2 separate regions of the Homo sapiens genome follow, and region 2 is linked to region 1. The links are contacts of gene promoters, found by promoter capture Hi-C in blood cells and fetal thymus (Javierre and others, 2016). All regions are on one chromosome and are shown on one strand. Each heading gives the region's core, a stretch centred on a gene start or on the middle of the fragment in contact. The rest is flanking DNA. Distances are from core to core; before and after follow the strand shown.

Region 1 (3,236 bases), core at 513-3,012:
GTATTTGCCTGGGACACAAAAAAACTTGGGGTTGGTGCCATTCAATAGGAGGGAATCTTTTGGTGGAGTAAAGGACAATAGTCACCAAAAGATGCTCCAGGAATTTCAGAGAAGCACAGCTCAAACTCTACCCAATATGCCAGTTAATACTGACATTTCCAGTGGGAAGGGAAGAGGTGAGAAGATAACACCTGAGTGGGCTGATGAGCCGGAACAGTTTAAGTGGGGGAAAGGTCTGGCATTGCCTTAGAGCTGGTGACCAGACTCCCCTACTGCTATGTATTGTGGTCAGTGAGCTTTGTGGATACCATTCCTCACCTTGATGGAATGGTAACAGATGTGACATCTGGGACCACTTTTCCAGTCCTTTGCTGCCACAGCCTGGCAGAACTTTGTTTGGCACTGAACAAATGCCAAAGTACCAGTGTGTGACAGAACAGAAAAAAGGCAGCTGGAAGGTATGAGCAGGAGGGAAGTTTCAGGATTTTTAGATCAAAGCTAATTAAAGATACGGAAACTTTTTTATGGAGAACAAATTAGAACTGCCTTGCAGCACTCTTGAAACTGCCCCTCTGATCCCTATGTAGTGCTCTCATAAATTACTGTCAGACAACCCTGAGCCAGTGAACATCAATTTAAATAACTTTATTCAGAGGAATCCTTTGGTCCACTTCTGCTGACTCAACCCCTGCCCATGCCAACAAAGGAGTACTAAGAAAGGCAGGTTAGCCTGAATGTCTAAATTCAATTTGTTCAACTTTATAAAAGCAGGCAAAGCTACTGGGGGTTGCCCCCTCCCACCATCATTCTGGTCCACCATTTGGGCCACAGGCTTAGGGAAATGAAGGAAAGTCGTTTTCTTTGAAGGAAATCCTGGCCAAAGTCGAGAAAGTGGGCACCATTATGAGGTCAACTAAACCCTGATGGCAGTGTGAAGTGCAATTCCCTTCTCCCTCCAAAATAAGAAACATGAATCCAGGGGAAGGGGCTTTTTCGTGTGCTAAGGAAAAACCCTTTCCCACATAGTCCTGCCTGGCAGAGCCACTTCCTGAGAAAGCCTCGTGTGTATAAGGTGGGGTAAAGGATAGGGGACTTTATGACTATTTGACAGGTAAAAGCCAAGTTGGCTCCTTAGAGGATGGAAAGGAGAGCAGGCCCAAGCTTCACCAGAGCTGCAGGTGGGCATTTTTTTTTCCTTCCTGGCCCAGAAGCTTCTTCACCTTGCGCCTTAGAGGGATAGCCAGAATGAAACCCAGGCAGGAGGGCCTGCAAAAACAGTGTGCCTCTAAGAACACAGAGGTTGCTACAGTTTCTGGCAGCACAAAATAAGCATAGCCTTATTTGATCTTGTGTCCATCAGCTCACCATTGACGTGAGGCAGTATCAGATTAGGGTAAGTTCTGGATCAAGGACTGTGGAGGGTGGTGGGGAGAAGGATCTGTAGAAACTATCATTTATTGAATACCCATTATTTCATATACTGTACTAAGTGCTTTACATTCATTTCCTCATTTTAATCCTCACAACAACCCTATGAGGTAGGTATTATCACCATTTACAAATGAGAAACAGGCTCAGAAAAATTAGGTCACTTGTCCAAGGTCACACAGCTAGTCAGTGGTGGAAGTGGGATTTGTCTGCTGCTGAAAGCCCATGTTCTTTTTATTGTACCCATCTAGGTGAGCCTTGAGCAAAAGGTAATTTCACTGCCCAACTCTGCAAAGAGCACCAGGGAGTCGAGGTTGCCAGCCACACTCACCGCTGGTAGGGATGCATGGAAGCCGACTTGATGTTGGTTTTTATTCCACTTGGCATTTTCCCTGAAAGGAACATTAAAAAAGTCATCTTAAGCAAGGTAAGACTTTCATGACAAATCAGAAATGTGGTACCTCAGGTTCCCTCTGTCACTTCCTTTATCATCTCAGAACCTCTGCGGCATCTGACCCTGTTTGACAGAGGTCAGAAGTATGATTCTTCACCCAGCTGTCTCCCTGAAGGTGTCCAGGAGGAAAGAAGTGACATGGGAGAATAGTCTGTTCATCCACTCCTAGAACAGATAGCTAAACCTGTGTGACTCCCATTTAACGTCACAGGTAAAAGAGTACTATGTTCTCTCATTGTTTTTCTTTTTTTATATCATAATAAGTGCAGAATCTCTCTTTAATTGTCCCTTTTCCTAGACAGCTTGGAGGAAATAACTCTTCTAGCTGCCTGCATCTAGACTGTTCTAAAAATGAGTAGGAGAGAAGGCAGGAAGCCAAGAGCAAGAGAGGCAGGATACAGAGAAAAGAATACATGTAGGACTGGAAAACTGGCCTGCGTGTCAATTCCTGATGCACCTACCAAATGGTCTTAAGATCTGACTGCTGATTTCTCTACCTAACAAGAGACACTGACAACATATCTAATACCAGAATAAATGGGATAGAAGGATAGTTGACACAGAGATGTGAGATGCGGATGAGAAATTGGAGCAGTTTCTGTTACTCAAAGTTCTTCCTCACTCTCTGGTGCCTGTTGCAGAGTCTCAGATGAGATTTTTTTACTTCTGAAAATTATTTCCTGGGTCACAGTGAAAAGGAGAAATAGAGAAAACCTCTAGGTCTAGAGATGCTGGAGGCCCAGATAATCTAGCTTATTCCCTCCCACTCCTGCTCAAAGTCAGCTTCATTTCAACCCCTGCCACCTTACCTGGTTGACCTGCCTGAGCCATTTGTACCCCACTGAGCATTGGCTGCTGCTGGCTTGGAGCTCCTGCCATCTGCACCTGCTGTAATCCTGAGGTTCCTGCAAGGATCGTCCCAGCTCCTGGCTGGCCTGCCTGGCCAGGACCACTGCTGCCTGAAGGTCTCCAATTAGATAGTCCTTTCCCAAAGGCAACAGCTGCCACCAAGGCATTAGTGTCTGTAGGGTTAAAGGTCTGCTTGTTCGGCCGGAGACCTGAAGAAAAAGTAATGGGGATCCTGAAGTATGCTTCTGATGCAGGACTGAACGTGGCAGCTGGAAGACCAGTATGAGTGCCAGGGTTTGGAGTTCTGAATTCAGCAACATCTAGACTCCCTCACAGCCCAGAAAAAGAGCCAGAGGACCCCCAAGCCTATCTCAGAATTCTCTCTTCTTACTTTGCCCATTTCCTCCACTGCTTCAGTGCTGGCCTTAAATACAAAAGGCTAACAGAATGGATACAAACCCCAAAGCAGTTCACCCTTGTGTCCTAACTTCACTACTTCCAAAAC
Region 2 (3,236 bases), core at 369-2,868, 470 kb before region 1:
ATATATTGGATGGGACATTATTTCCCAATGAATACCCTCACTTCAACAGTAGGCAGGGTGTAAGGCTGCCTACTTACACCCTGTAGTAAGGCTGCGTGTTCAATTTGCATTGTAATTCAGCCAATTACAAGATGAAATCTTCTGTTTCATTTGCAGCAATTTCAGTACTGAGGTTTTAGGAGATAAGGCTCTCCCTCAGGGCACATGTAGAAGCTCTTAGATCATTTATTTGAAGCTCAAGCTGGTAATTTGAATCTCTGAGCTCATCCTCCTCTTTCACCATTTTGTTCAGTGACATTAGGAGCAACCAACCAATGGCATTATATTCCTTGGTTTTCCAAAAACGTTTGAAAGTATCATATACAGAGTTACTTAGGTTTTTACTTCTTATATTTGGTAAACTAGGAGCATCTAATGCATATCTTTATAAATAGTTCATGCAATAGACTACTATAGAGTCCTTAGCATCTTGAAATCTAAGATGATTGAAGAGCCAATTCCATAAGCCCCAAAACCAATTCAGCAAACTCATCCTTAAAATTCTGTTGCTCTAGAACCACTCTCAGTATCGAAATCTGCATTAGTCAGGGTTCTCGAAAAAACCAGAACCAATAAGATATTTATACAGATATTAAGGGCAGATATATTATAAGAATTGGTTCAAGTGATTGTAGAGGCCAAGAAGTCCGTCCCATGATATACTGCCTGCACACTGGAGAAACAGGAAATATGGTAGTGAAATTCAGTGTGAATTTGAAAGCCTGAGAAACAGGGGAGCCAATGATATAACTCCCAATCCAAGGCTGGGGGCCTGAGACCCAGGTGGCTGCTGCTCTGACTCCTGAAGTCTGAAGGCCTAAGAATCAGGAGCTCCAATGTCCAAAGGAAGGAAATGGATGTCCCAGCTAAAGAGAGAGAGAGAGAATTCCCCCCTCCTCTACCTTTTTATTCCATTCAGATGGGCCCTCAATGAGTTGGATAAGACCTGCTAACACTAGGGTGGGTGAATCATTTTTACTCAGTACGCTGACCCAAATGCTAATCTCTGGGAATACTCTAAAAACATACCCAGAAATAATGTTTTACTAGCCATTTGGGTCTTCCTTAACCCAGTCAAGTTGACACATAAAATTAACCATTATACCATTCAAAGCCTGCCAGACACATCCTCTGACCCAGGTGCCCAGCTTGGGGGTGGAAGAGATCCAGTATAGGAAGTAGGTATTTTGAGAGCACATTCAAGGCAGACTTAGGAAACAAAATCCCAAAGGCAGCCAAAAGAATACTAATTTGAATCCTCCAAAAAGGTTATCTTCAAACTGGGTATTCATACCTGTGGATGTCCAAAAAAATTTCCAAGGAATATGTGAACATATTTAGCTTTAAGGGAATCGATGTCCAAATCCCGATCTTTACTTTCTGCATGTACTCTTTTCAAAAACTAATCTTCCTGAGAGGAGTAACATCAGTAATACAGCATAATAGGACATCTCAGACCTTGTTCCTCCATAGACACTGACTTAATATATGGTCCAAAAAGCTTTTATGAGAATTCTAGAAACTAGTGCCTGAGGCAAGTTCAAAGTCAAGAACAGCTATATTAAAATGGGTAAGAAGAAACATTTTCATTTAACCTACAATAGCCCTTTCCCAAAGCCAGTACAGCTTGGTGCTTTCAGGAGTAAATGCCCAACTTGAAGCTTCTACCTTGAGAGTGAAACAGAAGAGTAGAATGTGCGTCCAACATTCAGGCTTTTCAGGGGGCTCCCTGAGGGACCGGTTTCTGTCTTGCCTGACACTGAGTGCTGATAAAGTTAAAAAAAAAATTATATATATATATATATATACACACACGTATATATATACATATATGTGTATATGTATATGTGTATATATACACATATATACACATATATACATATATACACATATATATACATATATACACATATATATACACATATATACACATACACACACACACACACACACACACATATATATATATACATACATACATACACATCCCCTGGGGACTGCTGAGAACAAGAGACATCAACAGCTTGTTGTAGACCCTGAGAACTTGCAGTACTGTAGACAGACACCAGAGAGAGCAAGAGACCACAAGCTTCTGAAAAGACACCAGCAAACCTCTCGAATTGGGAAATCACAGGCACAAGCCCAAGAATACGTATCTCCAGAAAAGGTTTGAGAGACCACTCCCCCAAACTGTTAGTTGAGCTGAATGTTTAAGGTTTTCCCCTTTATGAAGCCAATCCATTAAAACTGGAAGACATGGTCATTTTTTCAAATCCACAAACTCTTGCAAAAAATAACAAGACATATGATGATAGTGGGAAACATGGTCCAGAGGACCAACTATGTATCAGAAATGGAACCCTAAAGAAACAGAGATCTATGAATTACCTGACAACGAATTCAAAATAATCATCTTAAAGAGGCTCAGTGGGCTACAAGAGAATCAGATACACAAATGAAACCAGGAAGTGACCCATAAAAACCAGAATACCAACAAAGACGCAGAGGCCGGGTGCAGTGGCTCAGGCCTGAAATTCCAGCACTCTGGGAGGCTGAGGCAGGAGGATTACATGAGCCCAGGTGTTTGAGACCAGCCTGGGCAATAGAGTGAGACCCTGTCTCTAAAAAGAAAAAAAAGAATCTGTTAAGAAAAAGACCAAATGGAAATTCTGGAGTTGAAAAAAACAATAACTGAATTGAACAATTCACTAGAAGGGATCATAACAGATCTAATTGAGCAGAAGAAACAATCAGGAAATTTGAGACAGGTTATTTGAAATTACTGAGTCAGGGGAAACAAAAGAAAAGATGAAGAAAAGTTAAGAAAGCCTAAGGGACTTATGGGATACAATATATGATCCAAAGAAGCCATCCCTGAGACACATAATAAACTGTCAAAAGTCAAAGAGAGACTCTGAAGGCAGCAAGAGTAAAGTGACTCATCAAGCACAAGGGAGCTCTTATAAAATTATCAGCAGATTTCTCAGCAGAAACCTTACAGGACAGAAGGGAGTGGGATGATATATTCAGAGCACTGAAAGAAAACCTGCCAAGCAAGAATAGTATTCAGGAAAACTGTCCTTCAGAAACGAAGGACAGAAATTTGGTTTCCGGTCCAGCATGTAAGGAGCTTAGAAGGTAACACTCCATCTAAACAGGTTAAAAGGCTGAGCAACAATAACAAAACCAAACAAAAG

What was found. The method cuts DNA at HindIII sites, captures the fragments that hold promoters and counts their contacts. A CHiCAGO score of 5 or more calls a contact.
Region 2: a fragment that was not itself captured here is called in contact with the fragment with the promoter of MED8-AS1 in region 1 in 1 of 17 cell types (naive B cells); the score reaches 5.3 in naive B cells.

Annotation. Positions count from the first base shown.
Region 1 is chr1:43,383,287-43,386,522 of GRCh38, forward strand. MED8-AS1 (MED8 antisense RNA 1) reads left to right here and starts at 1,763. Exons shown (of 2, transcript XR_001738027.1): 1 at 1,763-1,855; 2 at 1,998-2,440. It overlaps MED8 (mediator complex subunit 8), which reads right to left. Exons shown (of 7, transcript NM_201542.5): 6 at 2,692-2,940; 7 at 631-1,820. The coding sequence ends at 1,756. The HindIII fragment of the contact is 5,225 bases long and covers 1,210-3,236 here.
Region 2 is chr1:42,911,440-42,914,675 of GRCh38, forward strand. No RefSeq gene overlaps it. Among named protein-coding and RNA genes, the nearest start is that of SLC2A1, 46 kb to the right of the region's middle. The HindIII fragment of the contact is 160 bases long and covers 1,539-1,698 here.